Regions from separate parts of the Homo sapiens genome. Here regions 1, 3 and 4 are each linked to region 2. Evidence: promoter capture Hi-C in 16 types of primary human blood cells and fetal thymus (Javierre and others, 2016). All regions are on one chromosome and are shown on one strand. Each heading gives the region's core, a stretch centred on a gene start or on the middle of the fragment in contact. The rest is flanking DNA. Distances are from core to core; before and after follow the strand shown.

Evidence for each region. Contacts are between HindIII fragments. The CHiCAGO score rates a contact against its expected background, and 5 or more counts as called.
Region 1: a fragment that was not itself captured here is called in contact with the fragment with the promoter of FAM168B in region 2 in 2 of 17 cell types (monocytes and total CD4 T cells); the score reaches 7.4 in monocytes.
Region 3: a contact is called between a fragment that was not itself captured here and the fragment with the promoter of FAM168B in region 2, in 2 of 17 cell types (M2 macrophages and M0 macrophages). The highest score is 6.7, in M2 macrophages.
Region 4: a contact is called between a fragment that was not itself captured here and the fragment with the promoter of FAM168B in region 2, in 2 of 17 cell types (M1 macrophages and M0 macrophages). The highest score is 7.5, in M1 macrophages.

What each region holds. Positions count from the first base shown.
Region 1 is chr2:128,130,484-128,133,692 of GRCh38, reverse strand. It overlaps UGGT1 (UDP-glucose glycoprotein glucosyltransferase 1), which reads right to left. Exons shown (of 41, transcript NM_020120.4): 14 at 433-552. Among named protein-coding and RNA genes, the nearest start is that of UGGT1, 41 kb to the right of the region's middle. The HindIII fragment of the contact is 6,166 bases long and covers 1-3,209 here.
Region 2 is chr2:131,091,401-131,094,955 of GRCh38, reverse strand. It overlaps FAM168B (family with sequence similarity 168 member B), which reads left to right and starts at 1,496. Exons shown (of 7, transcript NM_001009993.4): 1 at 1,496-1,742. RefSeq lists a silencer at 1,323-2,042. The HindIII fragment of the contact is 2,381 bases long and covers 46-2,426 here.
Region 3 is chr2:128,157,549-128,160,781 of GRCh38, reverse strand. It overlaps UGGT1 (UDP-glucose glycoprotein glucosyltransferase 1), which reads right to left. Exons shown (of 41, transcript NM_020120.4): 23 at 1,062-1,268; 24 at 191-322. Among named protein-coding and RNA genes, the nearest start is that of UGGT1, 68 kb to the right of the region's middle. The HindIII fragment of the contact is 3,480 bases long and covers 177-3,233 here.
Region 4 is chr2:128,101,422-128,104,576 of GRCh38, reverse strand. UGGT1 (UDP-glucose glycoprotein glucosyltransferase 1) reads right to left here. Exons shown (of 41, transcript NM_020120.4): 3 at 563-645. Among named protein-coding and RNA genes, the nearest start is that of UGGT1, 12 kb to the right of the region's middle. The HindIII fragment of the contact is 736 bases long and covers 936-1,671 here.

The DNA.
Region 1 (3,209 bases), core at 376-2,875, 3.0 Mb after region 2:
ACTAAAACTGCCCTAAAAAATATAAAGTCTTAAAATAAAAACAAACACATCACTGAATGGTGTGAAGAGTATGAAAAGGAAACTTATTCAATCTGGAAAAGCTGATTAGAAAAAATAAAAATTAAAAAATTAAAAATGTTTTAAAATTAAAAACAAATTAAAAGACTAAAACAATAGTCTAAACCTTCGTGTTAAAAATGAGCATTTCCCCACACTCTGAGGGGGGCTGTAATGCTCCTGTTACATCCCACAGCCCCACAAGTGGTCAGTACACTACAAAGCCTTTCCAGTGTGAACAGGGAAGAGTATTTGGTGAAGGGTGGGGGAGGAAGCAGCTAGTAAAGGTGAGAAGTGACCATTCTACATGACAAAAAAAGAGGGACTAGGCAAGGGAGAAACAGAGTTCACAGCCAGACAATAAGTTTTACTTACCATATTATGTAAGTTTTTCCTGATCTGCCGAATAACACCAGGAAAGGTGGGTCGAAGCAACTCTTGTAAACTAGAAGGCCACGAATTATATCTGCTATCAACCTCCAGGTTGTTGACCCACTACAAAAAATAACACAACAGGATACATGCACATTAGGAACCAGTTAGTAAAACCTGCAATAATATCAATAAGACTTTAAAATATTTTAAGAAGAATCATGTGAGACAAGACCATTTTCAAAGATAAAAAGATTGGCTGCAGTGAGTGGCTCACATCTGTAATCCTAGCACTTTGGAAGGACAAGGCAGGAGGATCACTTGAGCCCAGGAGTTCAAGACCAGCCTGGGCAATATTATGAGACCCCCATCTCTGCAAAAAAATATAAAAATTAGCCAGGCATGGTGGCTGCTGTCCCAGCCACTCAGGAGGCTGAGGCGGGATGATCACCTGAGCCCAAGGGGTTCGAGGCTGCAATGAGCCATGATTGTGCCACTGCACTCCAGCCTGAACAACAGAGCAAGACCCTATCTCAAAAAAACAAACAAAAAAGATACAAAGATCGAGTGGAAAAATGAGTGACTAAAAGATAAGCCACAGAATAGATGAAGACATTTGTAACCTACAAACCCAATAAAGGACTAGCGTCAAGAATGAAGAAGACATAAAAATAAAAGAAAGAAGCGAAATTTTTTTTGTTTGTTTGTTTTTGTTTTTGAGATGAAGTCTCTCTATTGACGAGGCTGAAGTGCAGTGGAGCAATCTCGGCTCACTGAAACCTCTGCCTCCTGGGTTCAAACGATTCTCGTGCCTCAGCCCCCCGAGTAGCTGGAATTACAGGCACCCACCAACACGCCCAGTGAATTTTTGTACTTTTAGTAGAGGTGGGGTTTCGCCATGTTGGCCAGGCTGGTCTTGAACTCCTGACCTCAAGTGATCCGCCCACCTCGGCCTCCCAAAGTGCTGGGATTACAGGTGTGAGCCACAGCACCCAGCCCTAAACTTTTTAAGAACAAAGGAAAAAAGAAAATGTAAAAAAAAATCGGAAAAAAAAAAAGAATATGAAAAATAAACAGCGGAAACCCAAATGGGCAATAAACATAAGAAATGTGTACACCCTCAATTGTAATCTAGGAACTATGAGCTAAGACCTCAATGAAATTTCATACTCGCTAGACAGAAAAAGTGAAAGTTTGTCAAGACCAAGAATAGGAAAAGATATAGAGCAAAGAGAACTCTCATGCAATGCTGGTATGTGGACAAACACTTTAGAGAACTGGATCTAATAAAGTTGAAGACTATATTAGTACTAATTTTTCTAAAATAAATGCAGTACTGCCGGGTGTGGTGGCTCACGCCTGTAATCCCAGCACTTTGGGAGGCCAAAGTGGGCAGATCATGAGATCAAGAGATTGAGACCATCCTGGCCAACATGGTGAAAGCCCCATCTCTATTAAAAATACAAAAATTAGCTGGGCATGGTGGTGTGCGCCTGTAGTCCCAGCTACTCGGGAGGCTGAGGCAGGAGAATCGTTTGAACCTGGGAGGCGGAAGTTGCAGTGAGCTGAGATCACACCACTGCACTTCAGCCTGGCAAGAGAGCGAGACTGCAATGCAACACAACGCAATGCAACACAATGCAACACAACACAACACAATACAATACTCTAGTTCCAGATATCTACCCCAAATAAATTCACATGTATACACAAAAAGAGAGGAAAAAAGAGCCTAATTAAAGTAGTGTTTACAACAGCAAAACATCAGAAACAACTTCATGTCCACAAAGAGCAATTGTTCAGGAGGCTGAGGCAGGAGGACCTCTCAAACACAGGAGTTTAAGGCTGTGGTGAGCTATGATTGCATTCCTGCATTCCAGCAGGGTTTCACCATGTTGGCCAGGCAGGTCTCCAACTCCTGAGCTAAAGTGATCCGCCCACCACGGCCTCCCAAAGTGCTGGGATTACTGGCGTGAGCCACCGCGCCTGACTGGATTATCCCAATTTTTTTTTTTTTTTTTTTTTTTTTTGAGACAAGAGTCTCACTCTGTCGCCCAGGCTGGAGTACAGTGGCTTGATCTCGGCTCACTGCAACCTCTGCCTCCCGAATTCAAGCAATTCTCCTGCCTCAGCCTCCCAAGGAGCTGGGATTACAGGTGTGTACCACCACGCCCAGCTAATTTTTGTATTTTTAGTAGAGATGGGGTTTCACCATGTTGCCCAGGCTGGTCGCGAACTCCTCACCTCAAATGATCCACCCACCTCGGCCTCCCAAAGTGCTGGGATTACAGGCGTGAGCCACTGTGCCTGGCCTCAAATTTTTAGAATATTAAATAGGAGTCAGGTAAGGTGGTGCATGCCTATGGTTCCAGCTATTCAGGAAGCTGAAGCAAGAGGATTGCTTGACCGCAGGAATTTGAGTCCAGCCTGGGCAACATAGTGAGACTCATCTCTAAAAAAACAAAAGAAAGAAAGAAAAATATATTTGATAGAAAATAAAAGGATAAAATAAGGGACAAGGGAATGCACACCAACTTGAGAAAAGATATGAACTTCAGGAAGGAGAGGGGTGGTTGGTAAGGGACAAAGAAGGGCTTCAACTAAAACTGTTTCTTCCCCCAAGAAAACAGTTAAATCTGACACAAAATGATTAAATGTTAACATTTAGTAAGCATGATGATGGGTCCTATGGTTGTTAGTCCCTTTATGTTTGCATAAACATGTCATGTTGATGTTATTATCTTTTACTCTTTATAAGTACTTTTAACAGAAAAGCAAAT
Region 2 (3,555 bases), core at 247-2,746:
TTTATCTTTTGACTTTGCTTATGGTGCTTTTTGCCGACCAAAGCTTTTCATAGTCATGACTTCTGGATTTCAAGTAATAATGTAGAAAAGCCTTCTTTACTCCAATACTAAAAAGGAATTTCCCCATGTTTTCTTCTTGTCCTTTTATCACATTTATATTTTATTTTTATTTTTTTTTTTGAGACGGAGTCTTCCTCTGTCGCCCAGGCTGGAGTGCAGTGGCCCGATCTCGGCTCACTGCAACCTCCGCCTCCCGGGTTCAAGAGATTCTCCTGCCTCAGCCTCCAGAGCAGCTAAGGTTACAGATGTGCGCCACCACGCGCAGCTAATTTTTGTATTTTTAGTAGAGACGCGGTTTCACTATGTTGGCCAGGCTGGTCTTGAACTCCTGACCTCGTGATCTGCCCGCCTCGGCCTCCTATAAGTGCCGGGATTAAAGGCGTGAGACACCGCGCCCATCTGTTTTTATTTCATAAACGACTGAAAAAAGACCAGAGCCAGGCCTCCTCCCTTCCATCACTAATCTTTATTGCAATAACTCCCTCCTTTGTCGTCCTGTACCTAGCTCAGACCAGACGACACCCCAAACACAAACACCAAGACACGCACCTCTTTAATACGAAATAATAAACATACCTCCCCCAGAGAGACACCCTGAACTAACCAAATCATTGTAACTATACACTAAGCCTTACATAAAAATACTAACATTTGGCCGGGTGCGGTGGCTCACACTTGTAATCCCAGCACTTTGGGAGGCCAACGTGGGTGGATCACCTGAGGTCACGGGTTCGAGACTAGCCTGACCAACATGGTGAAACCCCCGTCTCTACTAACACAAAAATTAGCCAGGTGTGGTGGCGGGCGCCTGGAATCTCAATTACTCAGGAGGCTGAGGCAGGAGAATCGCTTGAACCCGGGAAGCGGAGGTTGCAGTGAGCCAAGATCGCGCCATTGTACTCCAGCCTGGGTGACAAGAGCGAAACTCCGTCTCAAAAAAAAACCAAAAAACCCCCTAACATTCTAGTACACTTCCCTGAACTCTTGTCTATAGAAATGATCCCGCACTTCTACACTTGAAACGCTGACTTGCATTCTCTAAAATCTGCACTCCTGAGCGGGCGCCCGCAGCCTCCGCACTGGCAAAGAATCTGTGAGCTGAGCTCCGCCCCGCTCCGACCCCGTAGTGGCGGTCACCCGGGGTGTGCTCGACTCCCGGGTGCGGCCTGAGGATCCGCGCCCTGGCGTCTGGGCACACACAAAGGTTTCTGCGGCGCGGGACTATCTCAAAATATAAATTAAATACTTTTTTCACAGACAGTTAATAAAAAAACTACAGCTACACCCGGCCCTTTCGCCAACTGGGACCGGCCCACTCCGCGCTCGCGCTCGCGCTCGTCCATCCGGGCGTCTCGAGGGCGCCGGCGGGAGCGAGCACGCTGCGCAGTCACGTGCCCGGCGCGCCCCCGTCGCGGCGCGCTCAGGCGGAAGTGAGGTCGGCGGCTCCGGTGGCTGCGCAGCGTCGGCGGGGAGCGCGGGCTGCGGAGAGGCGGGCCGGGCCAAGCGGAGCCGAGCGAGCGGGAGCGCGGCGTCCGGGAGGCGGCGGAGACGCGGGGCTCGGAGGGTCAGCCTCTTATCGTAGCAGGTCTCCTCGGCACGCCCCCCTTGTTTCGCCCCACGGCCAAGCCCGCCGCGGGCCGGCGTGCGCTGGTCACTGAGGCCCAGGTCGCCGCCGCGGCGCGGTGAGTGGGGGCGGGCAGCGGGCGACTGCGCGTCCAGGCCGGAAGTGCGGCGCTTTGTGCGGCCGGCTCGGGGCGGCGCCAAGGTCGGCCCGCGGCTCGGGGTCGCTGGGCGTCTGGACCGGCCTGGGCTGCGCTTTGTGCCGCGGGCAAGGCCGGGCGGGGGCCGGGGGCGGAGCTCGGCCGGACACGTACGCGTGCAGGTGCGGTCCGGGCGGCGCGGGCCTGCCGCCTAGGTGGCCGAGGTGGCTTCGCGGCGCGGGGCGTTCTCCTAAAGGTCGGGGTCACAGCCGTCAGGAATGCGAGCGTGAAACCCGGGGGCAGAGCTTTGTGACAATAGTCATTTCCAATGTGTAACTGCTCACTTTGTCTACCCACGAAGTAAAGATAATTTTTATTTTTATTTTTTTGCTTGGCGGAATCTGAGCGTTCTCCTTCCAGCTTGAAAAGGCACGATTTAAATTACAGATTTTTAAGATTTCCTTCAGAAAGGACGTTTCGTGGCCTAGCCTGGGTTAACTTTGAAAAAAGAGTGCAGTGCGCCTTTACGACGTCCACAAATAAGGGTATTTCTGTTTTATAGTGTATGTGAACATGAAGTGTGCATCTCATGGGCTGTTTGAGTTAATGTTTAATCATTAAAGTCAAACAAGAATATTTTGCAGTGTTTTCGCATGCAAGGAAGCTTTATAAATAAAAAGGTTTATATAGTTTCCACTCCTTAAACTTTCAGGTCATCCTTGTGTAATTTGAGATCACTTTTCTCAAATACTATGGATGAAAGATTCTAGATTAAATAAAACTTTTTGGTTTTGGCAAAAACAGGACACATTTTTAAGCTCTTGTAGATGAAGGAGTGGGTTATTTTTGCTTTGACAGCCAAGATTTGAGCAGTGTAAGGCTATTCTAATTTTGAAGCTAGTGTTGCAGAAATTGTGAAGATCTTGCTTCTCTTTGTCTTTACAAAGCAGGCTTACTTTGGTGGAGTTCCGTAGTTTAAAGGGAAATTATACCCAAGTTGTCTTAGACAGTTTCTTTTCCTGGATCAATTGAGCACTTTTTTTTTTTTTTTTGAGACGGAGTCTCCCTCTGTTTCCCAGACTGGAGTGCAGTGGCGCCATCTCGGCTCACTGCAAGCTCCGCCTCCCGGATTCACGTCAGTCTTTTGCCTCAGCCTCCCAAGTAGCTGGGACTGCAGGCGCCCGCCACCACGCCTGGCTAATTTTTTTGTATTTGTTTTTTTTTTTTTTTAGTAGAGACGAGGTTTCACCGTGTTAGCCAGGATGGTCCCAATCTCCTGACCTCGTGATCCGCCCGCCTCGACCTTCCAAAGTGCTGGGATTACAGACGTGAGCCACCGCGCCTGGCCGAGCACAATTTTAAAAGAACAGTACACCAGCGTAATAGAGTAATAGTTTTTTCATGCCTTGTGTCCAGTCTGTTAAGTCTGTCTGATTGTACTGTGCAGAAATACATGAATTCCTCCCAGTAAAATGCAAACCCAAACCTTGGTAATGAAGGTAAAGTTTGGGGGAGAGAACTTCTTTTCTTTTTTCTTTTTTTTTTTTGTGAGACGGAGTGTCGCTCTGTCGCCCAGGCTGGAGTGCAATGGCGTGATCTCGGCTCACTGCAACCTCCGCCTCCCGGGCTCAAGGGATTCTCCTGTCTCAGCCTCCCGAGTAGCTGGGATTACAGGCACACACCACTGCGCCCAGCTAATTTTTTGTATTTTTAGTAGAGACGGGGTTTTACCATGTTGCCCAGTCTGGTCTTGAACTCCTGACCTCAGGTGGTCCACCTACGTCGGCCTCCCAAA
Region 3 (3,233 bases), core at 667-3,166, 2.9 Mb after region 2:
GGGATATTTGTCTATGTCAAAAAGCACAGCTCCTTGGAAATAGGAGGCAGAAACATCAATGGCACTTCATAAGCCCCAATCACCTTTGAAAAAAGAGTGGCTCTGTCTGAAGAGTTTACTAGCTTCAGAGGAGAATGCTGCAAAGACTGTTCACGGATCTAATGTGAAGTCAAGCTTGACAAATCCTCACCCTTCCATTGCTGATCACTGCCCTCTGTCCCTTCTTCAGCTTCAGAACATCCCTGCAGTACACGGCATGAGACAAAATGAAATCCATTTTGGAAGACTCAAAGACCTCTTTAAAAAGACTGAAATCCATTCCCTAGGAAAGTAATCATTATTAAGGAAAAATAGTCGTTACTAAGCAAACCATATAAACAAATAAACACAGTGAATAAACCATAAAAATTTCTTTCCCTGGAAAGTAATAACTAATTTTCATAATTAACATTAAGATGTGTCAATTCTCCAGTCTCCCCGCCATCTCCCTACTACTTAGAGTAACTGCTATTTCCTTATCTTTTCCTGTGATTTGTTCGACTAGCAGACTATTCATCATTCCTTTACTCTGCATTTTTAAATCCTGCTAATTTCCAGTGACAGCCTGTTTTCCTAACTCAAACGTCAAATAGTATATACTCATCATTCTGTAAAAAATTTAAAAACTACAAAACTGTGTCAAAAAAATAAGTAACATAAAATATAAATGAATAAACACAGGCTTATTCTGGAAACACATCAAGAACATATAAGCCTTGAACCTATAAGTGGTTCAAATCTCCGTTTTTTGCTCTATAAATAAGCCATATTGTCTCTCTTAAAAACTGTGCATAACAAATGGCTCCATACTTAAAACACACAAAAACTCAAATCATGCACCACATGAAAGCTAGGCAAGGTTAAAAGTAATAAAGGGAAACTTCCAAATTAAAAAAAAAAATTCCCTGAGACTCAGGACTAAAATGACAAATCGTGATCATGAACCGGACACGTAAGCTGCAGTGGGTGAGCTTCCGTGGCAGACAAAATGGGGCAGCCTCATGAGAGGCTCAGAGCCTTACCCCAACAGAGAACTCCGCAATGTCAGCTCCTGCAGCCAGGGCCTCTGCAGCCCCCTCCTTGGCCATTTTGGTGATGAAGTTCTTAGCAGCGTTGGAAGTCTGAGTTTGGAGAGCTGCCCAGATTGCTCTGGAGATCTGAGTGTTCTCATAGCTTATCTCTTTGGCAGGATTATTGATCATGCTTATTCTAACATTGTTACTGGATTTCTGTTCACAAAATGGGAAACGGGAGTCATATTGTAGATATTTTTGAACTTAAAAAGCAGCATTAACATCAGTCATGTTCAATAAGTAGCAAATAATATCTCTCTTAAAAGTCTCAGGCCGGGCGCAGTGGCTCATGCCTGTAATCCCAGCACTTTGGAAAGCCAAAGCGGGCGGACCACGAGATCAGGAGTTCGAGACCAGCCTGGCCAACAGAGTGAAACTCTGTCTCTACTAAAAATACAAAAGATTAGCCAGGCATGGTGGTGGGCGCCTGTAATTCCAGCTACTCGCAAGGCTGTGGCAGGAGAATCGCTTGAACTCGGGAGGTGGAGGTTGCACTGAGCCAAGATCACACCACTGCACTCCAGCCTGGATGACAGAGTAAGACTCCGTCTCATTAAAAAAAAAAAAAAAAAAAAAGTCTCAGATAGTTCTCCTCCTCATTCAAAATAAAATTAAAAATGCCATCATCAAGCATTCAAAACCCTACATGAAGTGGCCCCCAGCCCACCTTTCCAACTTCATTTCTTACCTTCCCGGTAAATATAGCATAAATTACAGACCCTCAGAGTCCTATCTTTACCCAACACAGTTTATATTCTTATGCCACACATTTTGTATTCTTCTAACGCACTTGTTTTAGAAGTGTTTTCAGTGCTCTCCTCAAACCCTTCTTCATTCATACAGCCTTCCCACATTCCTAGTACAATTCAATCTCTCCCTGGGTGAAAAGACAAGAATCCAAGTGGAAGAATACACCCAGGACACACAAAGCCAAAAAAGGGCTTGTACCAATAACATAAGCAACAGACATTTATATTTGGGTGTACCAAAAGACATACGAGAATATTCATTGCAGCAGTCTTATAATAGCACCAAGCTAAAAACCCAACTGTCCTTCAAATAGCTTAAACAAATAAAACTTTGTGGTACAGCCATATGATATAATACTACAGAATGAAAAAGGACTCTATACCCCTACTTGTAACATCATGAATAAATCTTACAAAAGATTGGGTAAAGAAACCAAACACAAATGAAATTGCATAACATTCCATTTTAATAAACTAAAAGATAGGCAAACCTATTCCCTAATATGAGAAGAGGGAAGAGGCGTAGTGTCTGGGCACAAGTGTGGGTGGGCACAAGTGTGGGAGGGCTTTCAGGAACTTGAGAATTCTCTATTTTTTGACCTGAGTGGTGGTCACAAGAGTGTGTTCTCTTTGTGACACTGTGTGTCCTATGATTTGAGCACTTCTTGTGAACCTACATTTTACTTCAATTAAAATAGTTATTAAAAAATGCAACTCTCCTTCCCCATTCTCCTACCCTACTACCATTTGAAGATTTACGCATTTGTGTTAGAGTGCCTTTCACATATAACTATCGCCCTTAGCTAGAACTGCCCTGTTCTAACTTCAAATTGACCACAGCATTTGGTCCACTCCTTGAACAATAAAGGAACTCGGCATATGAGTAAAACTGAAACCACCTGGATATTTCTTTATTTCAGTAAACCTTCCCAGGTACAGGGTGGAAAGGGGACCATGAGGAGGGTTGTGAGGTATGGATGAAGATGCAAACTGAAACAGCCCAGGAAAAAGAATTTTGACATCTCATCCTCTAACGATGACACTCTCCAGAAGAATCAGCTGCTTCCCAACCACCTGCCATTGCCACTCACTCAAGCCCAACTATTAATGGCAGCATATCTTTTCAGAACACCTATGTGTGTATCCCTCAGTGCATCTGGATCTACTTCTACTAAACACACACACTACCATTCCTGTGTGCTACTGCCCCCATGTCCAGACCTCTGTCGTGGTAAGGACCCCATCTCCCCGATACAGTACACAACACAATTGTTGGAGCAACTCTGCTCCAAGAACATGAACAGGTATGCAATAAAACTTGTCTATGATGAGGATCTCGCTATTTATTTTTTTCTCTATAAGAATCTATCCC
Region 4 (3,155 bases), core at 54-2,553, 3.0 Mb after region 2:
CTCCAACTATTAATGTTTACACCCTATATAGCTTATACGAAGTTTAAAAAATGTGAAAGCACATCATAAAAACTGCAAATGAGGTTTTACAGGATAATCATTCATTTGATACCTTAACACTCAAGTTGTGGGTGGCTGGCAGGCATAATGGAAAACACTCTGGATGATACTAACTTAATGATAATGAACTTAACAGATAATAGCTCAGTTGTGTAGTTCATAACAAAAATAGTGAATCAGATTAGATGGTTATTAATACTGAATGATTTAAAATGAAATGTACTTCCACAAAATATTCACATAGCACTTTAATAAAGGATCACGATAGAACAAAAACAAGAGGGGAAAAAAACAAAGGTACCACTTATAGCCAAAGGTATACATTGCTTCAAAAATAATAATTTGTGTTGTGTTGGCTCTTCCTGACCACCATCATAACTCCAGTCATTAAAGACAACAATGTTTTCCATTAACTGCCATGCCACACATACTATAAAGAGACAATTTTTTCCTAATATTTTCCCAGACACCAAAGTCAAAGAAGCATTTGCTTCAATTTTACCGTCATGATCTGATGATCCAATATTTTGACTGGCTTCTACAAAATTCCAAAATTTCTCTTGACTGTCTTCTGCTAAAAACTCACTGGGAGAAAAGATCAGAAATAAAACAACTTAATAAAATTTTCTAATATAAACTATATTACTAAAGAGAGTAAAAATAAGTTTTGAAGTTTCCAAATGTCCATAGTTTGACTTTTAATCTATAATATATAATACTCTTTTATGTATAATATATATATTTTTAATGATAATCAAGTCCTATCTTATTAGTTATTAATAACTTAGCCTATGAATTTTTTCACTTAATAGCTATTTCTTAAGAAACCTGGAATAATAAAAACATAAAAGGGAAGTCTCAATATAAAGAAAGCTTATGAAACCCCATTGACAAAAATACTATGAGTAGTGGAAGAAGAATTAGGAACTGATGATTCTAGTACTAGTTCTGCTTACTTATTTTCTGAAAGGCCTTACAAAGAACAAAAAATATGTTTTGCCTAAAGTTCTCCCACAGTAAAATATGAACCGTAGAAAAATTTCTGAGAATAAAGGCAGCATGTTGTAATCTTTTAACACTCTTAAATCCAAATTTTCAAGATCACCAAACTTAGTTTAAAATTAGCACTGATCTAACAAAATCAGATCCAAGAACTTAATGCCATCTTAATTTTTTTCGACTTTATCCTACTAAAATAATGGCCAGTCTAAATTTCCCTTCATTCAAGAGTCTAAAACCCCTACGAGGAAATGCACGTAGTAATTGAATGATTCATGTCAATTGCTTATCTTCTCCTCTGAGCCATAATACTAATGCAGTGGTGATCTTTCACTGTCTTAAAGCAAACTACAGATCTGGATCTCAGCTTACCTAGCCAAAGGAAGACTTTCCCATTACTTGTGAACACTGGGGTGTACAATCTCACTCTACTCCACAGCTAGACACAGAAATATGGGAAAAATAAGAAACATTTCCTGGTAATGCACAGCTTCTCTAAAAATAGGTTTCTGAAAATACCCATTATCATAATATATTAAATTTCTCAATGCCTCCTTGAAAGTAGTATTTTTCTAGGCTTTCTAGTAACTGACATAGACACCACACCAAGCTTGGCATAGCTTATAGTCTAAGAAAACAAGTCCTAAGACAGATACATCAGGATGTGCAAATAAACACTAAATTAATTAATTAAAGGCACATTCACAAGATAAGCAGAGAGGGGCAAGGTGACACACTCACCAGTGTGGTGAGAACTAAGATTCAATCAGACTAAGACTCTCCCAGTAAAGGCCACACACGAATAAATACATGCTTTTCATACAATTACAGGGAAACTTCTTGAAACATACATTCTTTTCACCCCACTGCATACATAAGGTCTTACAAGGTCTAAACTTGGAACAGTCCTAATATTACTTACTAGATCCACTGAAACAACCCAGAGGAGAGAATAACAATACAAGATATTATTAAAGAAATGCTGCCTTTTTTTACAGCATATTTTTGTTGCTTTTTGTTTTTTTAGCTTCTTATATAATACTTATTCCACTGAGCATAAATTATGATTTTACAGGCCAGGCGCCGTGGCTCACGCCTGTAATCCCAGCACTTTGGGAGGCTGAGGTGGGTGGACCACCTGAGGTCAGGAGTTCCAGACCAGCCTGGCCAACATGGTGAAACCCCATCTCTACTAAAAATACAAAAAATTAGTCGAGGGTGGTGGCGGGCGCCTGTAGTCTCAGCTACTCAGGAGGCTGAGGCAGGAGAATCGCTTGAACCCAGGAGGTGGAGGTTGCAGTGAGCCAAGATCGTGCCATTGCACTCCAGCCTGGGCAACAAGAGTGAAACTCCATCCCAAAAAAAAAAAAAATTATGATTTTACAAACTATATGATGTCTGGGATTTGCTTTAAAATATTCTAGTGCGGGAGGAGAGAAGGGGGTGGTGATGGTGGTTATTGTACTTAAATTGATAATTGTTAAAACAGGATGATGGGTACAGAGAGAGTACATTATACCATTCTCTCCATATATAAATGTTTTGAAATGCCATAATCCAGGACAAGTTTTTAATCTACAACACAAAAAAAACTACAAACAACCAGAATGAATGCCCACAAGATAGTACAAATCAGGTGACAACTTGTTTTCTTAGATTTCCAAAGCTATTGCGGGAGATCAGCATTGGTCTTCCTTCTATGTGGAACTAGGAGGGAAGAAACTAATATTTAAGGAGGCTCTACGATGTTACAGTCACTAAGCTTGGCATATTTACTCGTGTCCGCAAACCCACACAGCCACCCTCAGATATAACCGTTTTTCAAATAAAGAAGCTGCCATTCAGAGATGCTACTGACTTTCTTAGGGACATAGAGTTAGTCAATGGAAAAGCTGGAATATAAATTCATGTCTATTTAATTTATACCTCTAACATGCTACATTCTTGGGTCATTACAAAATTTAGCACTCAGTAAATGATTATTGGTTTTGATTTTAATAATACCTCCTTATATAATATTTCTGTAGCTACAGCTGCAGAAAACATATTTAGTGTTTTACTTCAATTAAAGATAAATATCACTTCATAGACAATCA